3 separate regions of the Homo sapiens genome follow, and regions 1 and 2 are each linked to region 3. The links are contacts of gene promoters, found by promoter capture Hi-C in human tissues and cell types (Jung and others, 2019). All regions are on one chromosome and are shown on one strand. Each heading gives the region's core, a stretch centred on a gene start or on the middle of the fragment in contact. The rest is flanking DNA. Distances are from core to core; before and after follow the strand shown.

Region 1 (3,197 bases), core at 597-3,096, 140 kb before region 3:
GAGGCCATAACACCCGCCCATGGTGGGGCCTCGAGTCTGTTCCCAGCAGTGGAGGCAGAGCCGGAGCAAACAACTCCTGCAACAGCAGCTGTCCCCCAGGAATGAGCTGTCCCCCAGGAGCGAGCTGTCCCCCAGGAGCGAGCTGCCCCCCAGGAGCGAGCTGCCCCCCAGGAATGAGCTGCCCCCCAGGAGCGAGCTGTCCCCCAGGAATGAGCTGTCCCCCAGGAGCGAGCTGCCCCCCAGGAGCGAGCTGTCCCCCAGGAATGAGCTGTCCCCCAGGAGCGAGCTGCCCCCCAGGAGTGAGCTGTCCCCCAGGAATGAGCTGTCCCCCAGGAGCGAGCTGCCCCCCAGGAGCGAGCTGTCCCCCAGGAGCGAGCTGTCCCCCAGGAATGAGCTGTCCCCCAGGAGCGAGCTGCCCCCCAGGAGCGAGCTGTCCCCCAGGAATGAGCTGTCCCCCAGGAGCGAGCTGCCCCCCAGGAGCGAGCTGTCCCCCAGGAATGAGCTGTCCCCCAGGAGCGAGCTGCCCCCCAGGAGCGAGCTGTCCCCCAGGAATGAGCTGTCCCCCAGGAGCGAGCTGCCCCCCAGGAGCGAGCTGCCCCCCAGGAATGAGCTGTCCCCCAGGAGCGAGCTGTCCCCAGGAATGAGCTGTCCCCCAGGAGCGAGCTGTCCCCCAGGAGTGAGCTTCCTCCCAGGAGTGAGCTGCCCCACAGCCTCTGCCCGGCCTCCAGTTGCCGCTTTGCTGGGCTAATGAGGGGCTCCAGGCCTCGGGGTGAGGGTGGCGCTGTCTGTGCTCCCAGTGGCTGCTACAGGCCAGGCCGAGGGTCCTGAGTGAATGAGACAGGGGCCGACCCCCACCCACCCCTGCCTGTCTGTGGTTCACAATCAGAGCAAAGCCCTTTCCGTCCGTCTTGTCTTCTCTTCCCCAGCGAATCCCACAGTCCCCAAGACTGAGGACAAGCCCTGCCTCTTCCGGGCAGCCTTCCCTGTGCTGGCTGAATTGATCACGCGCCTGGCTGATGGCTTCATAGGCTGCTTCAGAGTATTTTTTTTTTTTTTTTGAGATGGAGTTTCGCTCTTATCGCCCAGGCTGGAGTGCAATGGTGTGATCTCAGCTCACTGCAACATCCGCCTCCCGGGTTCAAGCGATTCTCCTGCCTCAGCCCCCCGAGTAGCTGGGATTACAGACATCTGTCACCATACCCGGCTAATTTTTATATTTTTAGTAGAGACGGGGTTTCTCTATGTTGGCCAGGCTGGTCTCGAACTCTCGACTTCAGGTGATCCGCCTGCCTCGGCCTCCCAAAGTGCTGGGATGACAGGCGTGAGCCACTGTGCCCAGCAAGAGTCTTAGTTCCATTTGGTTGTAAAGACGCTCACTTCAGTGTCCCTGTCTGAACCTGGCGGCTCTTGGCCTTCCTATACATTAGAGTCACCTGGGGAGCTTTTAACAGGCCTGATGCCCAGGCCATTCCATACCAATTCAGTAGCAATCCCTGGGGTAGGAGCCAGAGAGCTTCCCAACTCCCCAGGGATTCCAGTGTGCAGTGAAGATTGGAACAGTTATCTTAGGATTCAAGTCATGAACTGGCCGGGCGCAGTGGCTCACACCTGTAATCCCAGCACTTTGGGAGGCCGAGGCAGGTGGATCACCTGAGGTCAGGAGTTTGAGACCATCCTGGCTAACATGGTGAAACCCTACCTCTACTAAAAATACAAAATTATCCGGGCGTGGTGGCGGGCACCTGTAATCCCAGCTACTCAGGAGACTGAGGCAGGAGAATTGCTTGAACCGGGGAGGTGGAGGTTGCAGTGAGCCAAGATTGTGCCATTGTACTCTAGCGTGGGAGACAGAGCAAGACTCTGTCTCCAAAAAAAAAAAGAATTTAAGTCGTAACTAGTCCACCAGCCTGTGCTGAATGGAGGCTGACTGATGAACAGCAGAGTTAGCTGACAAAGCTTGCTGTAGTCTTAACTCACTGCAAATTGCCAAAGCCCTGGTTTGTTTTTTAAGGGCTGGGAGGTCCCTAAGGGTTCTTGGTACTCAGGAAGGAGAGCAGGGGAATAATGATAATAGCTGCCGTTTTGTTAGCGCCAGCTTTGGGTGCCTTGCATAGCATATATTTCCTCATTGTAACCTCGCAAAAGCTTCATGAGGTATAGATCTTGTTTTTATCCTCATTTTAGAGATGAGAAAACTGAGGCTCTGAATGGCTAAGTAGCTTGCCCAAGGTCACATGGCTAAGGTCACATTCCCGAAGTGCTAATCTCAGGAATGGAACCCGAGTGTGATTCCAAAGCCTCTGCCCTTGACCACTGAGCTGTCCTGGCTCCCCAACCTCTGCTCCATCAATCAAAGAATGGGGGGCCCTGAGAAGGAGGTGGCTTGTCCCGTGGGAAAGATGCTGGTTTCCAGGATTCCTCCCCTTGGAGCCAGGCCCTGACTGAGGGGCTCCCGATGGTATTAAATATCTCCTGGATCAGCTGGGGTCACCTGGACCCTGAAGGTGTCTACTTTCCCGTTGCCTACGACACCCACTCGGCTTCAGCTGAGCTTTCCCAAGGACCCTTCTGCCCTGATACTGTGCCCAGTTCTTTAACCTACATCATGTTATTTAATGTCATTTTCACAACCACCCTGTGACATGGTATCGTTATCCTCATCTTGTTTCTTTGAGACAGTCTCACTCTGTCACCCAGGCTGGAGTGCTGTGGTGCGATCTCAGCTCACTGCAACCTCTGCCTCCCAGTGCAATAGAAGACTGGCCGGGCGCGGTGGCTCACACTTGTCATCTCAGCACTTTGGGAAGCCGAGGTGGGCGGATCACTTGAGGTCAGGAGTTCGAGACCAGCCTGGCCAACATGGTGAAACCCCATCTCTACTAAAAATACAAAAATTAGCCGGGCATGGTGGCGGGTGCCTGTGATCCCAGCTACTTGGGAGGCTGAGACAGGAGAATTGCTTGAACCTGGGAGGCGGAGGTTGCAGTGAGCTGAGATCCCACCACTGCACTCCAGCCTGGGTGACAGATTGAGACTTCGTCTCCAAAAATAAATAAATCAATAAAATAAAGTGCAGTAGAAGACAGTGTCCTTATTGTTGTAGGTGAGGTGGTAGATTTTGTATCTGAGCCACCATCCCTGCTGAAATTGCCCCGGACAGGCTGATCTGGTACAGGTGGCACCTGGGAAGTGGCAGC
Region 2 (3,673 bases), core at 617-3,116, 200 kb before region 3:
AAGGCGGATCTTGGCCGGGTGCGGTGGCTCACGCCTGTCATCCCAGCACTTTGGGAGGCCGAGGCGGATGGATCACGAGGTCAGGAGATTGAGACCATCCTGGCTAACACGGTGAAACCCCATCTCTACTAAAAATACAAAAAATTAGCCGGGCACGGTGGTGGGCGCCTGTAGTCCCAGCTACTCGGGAGGCTGAGGCAGGAGAATGGCATGAACCCGGGAGGCGGAGCTTGCGGTGAGCCAGGATCGCGCCACTGCACTCCAGCCTGGGCGACAGAGCAAGACTCCGTCTCAAAAAAAAAAAAAAAAGGAAGGTTGGATCTCCTGTAGCTTCCTGTGGTGCCGTCTTCTCCCAGGGACTCGAGCCTTGTTCAGAGCACTGACAGGATTTTTCAGAAAGTTCTGTGTGTGTGGCTGCTCTTTGGTAAGCCCAGGGCAACAGAGTCATCAACATTTAGGGAGGGGGTGGGTGAGGCAGGATGTAGAGTTAATACCCAGTTTTGTCCTATGTTCCTCTGAGAAGTTAGCTAAGAAATCTTTTCTAAATTAAATTTAATTAATTAATTTGTTTTTTGGGCCAGAGTTTTCACTCTTGTCACCCAGGCTGGAGTGCAGTGGTGTGATGTCAGCTCACTGTGACCTCCACCTCCTGGGTTCAAGTGATTCTCCTGCCTCAGCCTCCCGAGTAGCTGGGATTACAGGCACGTGCCACCATGCCCAGCTAATTTTTGTATTTGTAGTAGAAAGAGGGTTTCGCCATGTTGGCCAGGCTGGTCTTGAACTCCTGACCTCAGGTGATCCGCCTGCCTCGGCCTCCCAAAGTGCCGGGATTATAGGCGTGAGCCACCGCACCTTGCCTATTTTTTTTTTTTTTTTTGAGACAGAATCTCGCTCTGTTGCTCAGGCTGGAGTGCAGTGTCGTGATCTCGGCTCACTGCAACCTTCTCCTTCTTGGTTCAAGCGATCCTCGTGCCTCAGCCACCTGAGTACCTGGGATTACAGGCACCTGCTACCATGCCTGGCTAATTTTTGTATTTTTAGTAGAGATGGGGTTTTGCCATGTTGCCCAGGCTCGTCTCGCACTCCTGACCTCAAGTGATCCCTGACCTCAAGTGATCTCTCCCCACAATCCCAACTTGCCTTCCCAAAGTTCTGGGATTACAGGCGTGAGCCACCGCGCCGGCCAATAATTTTTTTTTTTTGAGACAGAGTCTCGCTCTGTTGCGCAGGCTGGAGTGCAGTGACACGATCTCGGCTCACTGCAACCTTTGCCTCCCGGGTTCACACCATTCTCCTGCCTCAGCCTCCTGTGTAGCTGGGACTACAGGCGCCCACCACCACGCCCGGCTAATTTGTTGTATTTTTAGTAGAGACGGGGTTTCACCGTGTTAGCCAGGATGGTCTCGATCTCCTGACCTCGTGATCCACCCGCCTCGGCCTCCCACAGTGCTGGGATGACAGGCGTGAGCCACTGCCCAGCCAATAATTTTCTTTAAAATGCTCCTTACGCTACTTGCTGAGCCTGGGTCAGGCAGGGCTGGGGGCTGCCTTTGGGAGAGAGATACACCAGAGACTAGTTAATCACTGTAGCAGTAGAAAACACCCTTAAGGGCCGGGCCTGATGGCTCACGCCTGTAATCCCAGCACTTGGAGAGGCCAAGGTGGGAGGATCCTTTGAGGCCAGGACTTTTTTTTTTTTTTGAGACAGTCTCATTCTGTCGCCCAGGCTGGAGTGCTGTGGCGCGATCTCCGCTCACTGCAAGCTCCGCCTTCCGGGTTCACGCCATTCTCCTGCCTCAGCCTCCCGAGTAGCTGGGACTACAGGCGCCCGCCACTGCGCCCGGCTAATTTTTTGTATTTTTAGTAGAGACGGGGTTTCACCGTGTTAGCCAGGATGGTCTCGATCTCCTGACCTCGTGATCCGCCCGCCTCGGCCTCCCAAAGTGCTGGGATTACAGGCGTGAGCCACCGCGCCTGGCCTGAGGCCAGGACTTCAAGAGCAGCCTGGGCAACATAGTGAGGTTCTGTCTGTACAAAATTAAAAAAAAAATTAGGGTCGGGCGCGGTGGCTCACACCTGTAATTCCAGCACTTTAGGAGGCCGAGGTGGGTGAATCACCTGAGTCAGGAGTTCGAGACCAGTCTGGCCAACATGGCGAAACCCTGTCTCTACTAAAAATACAAAATTTTTAGGGCATGGTGGCACATGCCTGTAATCCCAGCTACTAGGGGGGCTGAGGCAGGAGGATTGCTTGAACCCGGGAGGTGGAGGTTGCAGTGAGCTGAGACCGCACCACTGCACTCCAGCCTGGGCAACAGAGCGAGACTCCATCTTAAAAAAAAAAAAATTAGCTGGGTGTGGTGGTGCATGCCTGTAGTCCTAGCTATGCAAGAAGTTGAGGCAGGGGGATGGCTTGAGCCTGGGAGGTCGAGACTGTAGTGAGCTATGATTGCACCACTACACTCCAGTCTGGGCGATAGAGTGAGACTTGTCTCTAAAAAATAAAGAAGGCTGGGCGAAGTGTCTCACACCTGTAATCCCAGCACTTTGGGAAGACGAGGCAGGCAGATCACCTGAGGTCAGGAGTTGAGACCAGCATGGCCAACATGGTGAAACCCCTCTCTACTAAAAATACAAAACAAAACAAAAAAATAGCTGGGCGTGGTGGCGTGTACCTGTAATCTTAGCTACTTGGGAGGCTGAGGCAAGAGAATTACTTGAACCCGGGAGGCGGAGGTTGCAGTGAGCCAAGATCGTGCCATTGCACTCCAGCCTGGGCGACAGAGAGAGACTCTGTCTCAATCAATCAATCAAAATATAAATAAATAAAAAAAAACAAAGGAAACACCCTTGCCACCAGAGATCCTCCAGGTACAAACCTCATGTTCAAGGAGAAATCAAAAGACCCAGGAGCTTGTCAGATTTCAGTAGAGGAGAAAGAGGATGGAAATTCATCTTTGTGTCTTCCTTCCTCTGCCACTTCCCCTGGAGAGTAAGCTTTAAGAGCTGCAGTGGCCAGGCGCGGGGCTCACGCCTGTTATCCCAGCACTTTGAGAGGCCAAGGTGGGCAGATCACGAGGTCAGGAGATCAAAACCATCCTGGCTAACACGGTGAAACCCCGTCTCTATTAAAAATACAAAAAAAAAATTAGCTGGGCGTGGTGGCGGGTGCCTGTAGTCCCAGTTATTCAGGAGGCTGAGGCAGGTGAATCGCTTCAACCTGGGAGGCGGAGGATGCAGTGAGCCGAGATTGTGCCACTGCACTCCACACTCCAGCCTGGGGGACAGAGGGAGACTCTATCTCAAACATAAAAACACACAAACAAAAAGGGCTGCACTGATGTGCTTGAATTAGCGTCAGTTGCCAGTACTCCCTGGCGTGCTGGAAACCGAGCTCTTCCTGAGTGAATGTCGGGCGGCATCTGGTCAGGATGCTTTCCTGAAGCTTCAGGACTGGTGGCCAGGTACAATTGCTCTGGACCGAGCCAGACCCGAGTGAGAACTTGGCTCTGTCACTCACTAGCAGTGTGAACTTGAGCCTCTTCTGTAAAGCGGGCGTGGTGACTGTGGCTTCCACATAGAGAGGCTGCTTGCGAAGAGTGAAGGTTACGTGCTTAACAGGGTGCCTAGAACGTAAATACTGGCGATGCTCGGGACACGTCGGCCGAAGGGC
Region 3 (3,594 bases), core at 686-3,185:
TTCAAATGACTTTTAAAGAGCAATTTCTCTTTAAAAGTAATGAAATGGTGGCCCCAGCAAGGATTTCTTAGAAGGCAGAGACACTTACAGATTCTATCAAACACTCAGTACAAGAAAACATGGCTCCCACAATGGCGAAATTTTTGGCATAGGACATTCCTCTCTGCCCCATGTCTTTCAGCACTTCTTTTGCAGTCGGTGTACGGTAAGGATCCTTAGGGTCAAAGCCCACGTTGGTATCGATGCCAGCGGTAAACACCCCAAATGCACCTCCTAAGACAAATCCTAGAAGCAAACACAGAGATGAAGGTGTCTTTGGCATGTTTTCTGCATTACTCTATTGGGATCATCCTGGAAGGGACCATGCTTTTGGATGACCACCGGTGCAGAGGACACCCCCCTCTTGCCACTCAAACTCTCCACTTGCCTGGAGACTTGCAATCCAGGGTCTATGTTACTGACATCATCTTCTCCGTCTCTAAGATTTCTTCCTCCTGTCATTCCCTAACATTTCTCAAGATTCCATCTTTAACCCTCTATTCTCTCTACATTCTCTCATATGTAAACCAGCCACCCTCAACTTCAGCTATCAACTTTGCAAATCACTCTCTTGGCCACTGTGACATTCACAGTAATGCTTTACTGAGCACATGCCAGTATGCCACAGCCTCATTCATTCTTCACAATAATCCAGTGAGACAGATGCTATTAGCCTCTCCTTTCTATAAACTGAGGCTCAGAGAGGTTAAGCAACTTCTCCCAAGGCCACACAGCTACCTAATGGCAAATCCCACACTGCTGCCACATCTGTCCTTCCTGAGCCGGCTGGACATGTCCAGATGGATGCCCTCTCATGACCTCATGGTCAATATGAGTTTAATAAAATCATGGGCACCTCCCCTTCAACTTAAGGGAAAAACAGAAGGACAAGTGCAGACTTCGTCTCTCCTTGCTCGGGGCTGTCTAGTCACAATGGTCTTTCAGTTTTTCAAACCTCAAACAACTGCTGCCCTAGAGTCGTCTGCATGTGCATTTCCATATGTCTGCATCCTTCCTCTGCAGTGTTCCTGCTCAACATTCTTCTCCACATAGTATAATACAGGCCCCATGAAGACCAGGCTCTTGTCTCTTTCACCTGGCACGTGATATTGCTTAGGAACAATTTGTTGAAAGAATTATTTAAGAGAATGAATTTAAGGGAATGAACGGATGAATGAAGTCACCCACGTAATAACTTTTTGTTGTTGTTTTTGAGACGGAGTCTCGCTCTGTCGCCCAGGCTGGAGAGCAGTGGCACATCTCGGCTCACTGCAAGCTCCGCCTCCTGGGTTCAAGCGATTCTCCTGCCTCAACCTCCCGAATAGCTGGGACTACAGGCGCCCACCACCACGTCCAGCTAATTTTTTGTATTTTTAGTAGAGACGGGGTTTCACCGTGTTAGCCAGGATGTCATGTAATAACTTTCAGGCCCCAACCACAGCACCGATTCTCTAACCCAATTTTCATCAGGAAAGCCGGCCTGAGGGGGCAGGAGAGGTGACGCCCGATTCACGAACGAGGCGAGGGTGTGGTCAAGGTCAAGGCCCGCAGTCCCTCGCCTCCCAGGCGCGTGGTCTTCTCGGCAGAGATCCCCACTGCCGTCCAGGCCCTCAGCCTCCCAAGGGTCCCATCGCCCGGCCTCACCTCCCACGCAGGCCAGCGCAGCCTTGAAAGCGCAGCTTTCCATCGCCTTCTCGATCATCTTCTGCTCCTCACTCTTGGCTGGACTTGGGATCCCGCCCAGGCTCCCAGGCTCCAGGAGCCGGGGCTGACGCTTGTCACCCACCAGGTACTGCAGGAGCAGGCTGTACTGCAGCGGAGCTTCGGCGGAACCCGCTGTCTCAGGGGCCGAGCCTCCGGCATTGGGGGCGGCCGCCGCCATGACAGTCGCTGCCCAAGCAACCCTCGCGTCCTTCTCCCCGCAGCAGATTCGACAAGCGTCACGTTGCGGGCCCTGAGACTAGCCACTGTGATGCAACGGCAGATTCGCCGCAGGAGGAAGCCGCGGCCGCAACGCTCCTGGTGCGCACACCAGCGAGACCGCTATCATGTTTCCAAAAAGAAAGCCTCTTGTGAAAATGGAATTGGGCTTGGACAGCTTTCCCCATGTCACAGACAAACGAGATTCAGATTCACCAGAAAGCGCCCTCACGGTCGGGGCTGCAGCGCGGTGAGTACCGGGATTTGTAGTTCTAATCCGACACCCAACTACATTTCCCAGGAAGCGTTGCGCGTGCTCTCGCGCCTCGGCCCCGCGCGGGGCTCTTACGAGCTCCTGAGGGGAGCGAGGAGTGGCCGCGCGCTCCGGGGCTGCCGTGCTCCGGATCGCCGGGAGGGGACGCGCGAGCATTGTCGCTGCCCTTTCCACCTCGTGCTGTCATCGGGCGGTGAGGCGTTAAATCCCGTGGTCCCGGAAGGTGCGGTGAGAGGTGGATGCTTTGTAGATAAGCGTGAACTTGTGCTGTAAATGCACGGACCGGGCGCGGGGGCTCACGCCTGTCATCCAGCACTGTGGGAGGCCGAGGCCGGTGGATCACGAGGTCAGGAGTTCGAGACCAGTCTGACAAACATGGTGAAACCCCATCTCTACTAAAAATTAAAAAAATAAAAAATAAAAAAATTAGCTGGGCATGGTGGTGCACGCCTGTATTCTCAGCTACTTAGGAGGCTGAAGCAGGAAACCCCGTCTCTACTAAAAATATAAAAATTAGCCAGGTGGCGGCAGGCGCCTGTAATCTCAGTTACTCGGGAGGCTGAGACAGGAGAATCTCTTAAACCCGGGAGGTGGAGGTTGCAGTGAGCCAAGATCGCACCATCGCACTCCAGCCTGGGCGACAAGAGCAAGACTCCGTCTCAAAAAAAAAAAAAAAAAAAAAAAAATCCTAACTGACAGCATTTGCTGACTTGTGTGGTGTTAATATCCCCATCATGGCTGATTTCAAACTACCAAGCGAGGTCATCAGTCAGAATTGGGAAGACGTACAGCAGCATGTGGTTACATGGTGTTTCTATCACACAGATACAATCTATGGAAATAACCTCAACAGCATAGATAGGAGTACAGTGTAGTAAAATTTTTAGGAGGGGATGAGTTTTGAGCACATATTACCTATTTTTAGTGTAATTTATTATAAATGTATAGAATGTAATTTTTAATAATAACTGTGCTTAACAACCAGCTCAAAAACTCCTGATAATTTGTTGCCTTACTTTTTAAAATTACTCTTTTGAGACAGAGTCTTGCTCTGTCACCCAGGTTGGAGTGCAGTGGTGCAATCTCCGCTCACTGCAACCTGCACCTCCCGGGTTTGAGCGATTCTCCTGCCTCAGCCTCCCGACTAGCTGGGATTACAGGCACATGCCACCATGCCCGGCTAATTTTTGTATTTTTAGTAGAGACAAGGTTTCACCATGTTGGCCAGGCTGGTCTCAAACTCCTGACCTCAGGTGACCCACCCACCTCGGCCTCCCAAAGTGCTTGGATTCCAGGCGTGAGTCACTGCGCCCGGCCAGTTAGGGCCTTTTTGTTATTGTTGTTAAACATTTACCATTATA

What was found. Contacts are between HindIII fragments. The study calls those that stand out against the background at their distance.
Region 1: a contact is called between a fragment that was not itself captured here and the fragment with the promoter of TIMM22 in region 3, in 3 of the 25 tissues and cell types used here (IMR-90 fibroblasts, dorsolateral prefrontal cortex and thymus).
Region 2: a contact is called between a fragment that was not itself captured here and the fragment with the promoter of TIMM22 in region 3, in 3 of the 25 tissues and cell types used here (bladder, dorsolateral prefrontal cortex and spleen).

Annotation. Positions count from the first base shown.
Region 1 is chr17:1,140,447-1,143,643 of GRCh38, reverse strand. The region is part of intron 1 of ABR (ABR activator of RhoGEF and GTPase); the gene reads left to right. Among named protein-coding and RNA genes, the nearest start is that of ABR, 38 kb to the left of the region's middle. The HindIII fragment of the contact is 6,228 bases long and covers 1-3,197 here.
Region 2 is chr17:1,193,333-1,197,005 of GRCh38, reverse strand. It overlaps a transcript of ABR not described here. Among named protein-coding and RNA genes, the nearest start is that of ABR-AS1, 14 kb to the right of the region's middle. The HindIII fragment of the contact is 6,525 bases long and covers 1-3,673 here.
Region 3 is chr17:995,470-999,063 of GRCh38, reverse strand. It overlaps TIMM22 (translocase of inner mitochondrial membrane 22), which reads right to left and starts at 1,935. Exons shown (of 4, transcript NM_013337.4): 1 at 1,684-1,935; 2 at 89-285. The coding sequence starts at 1,921. RefSeq lists an enhancer at 1,222-1,913. The HindIII fragment of the contact is 16,003 bases long and covers 1-3,594 here.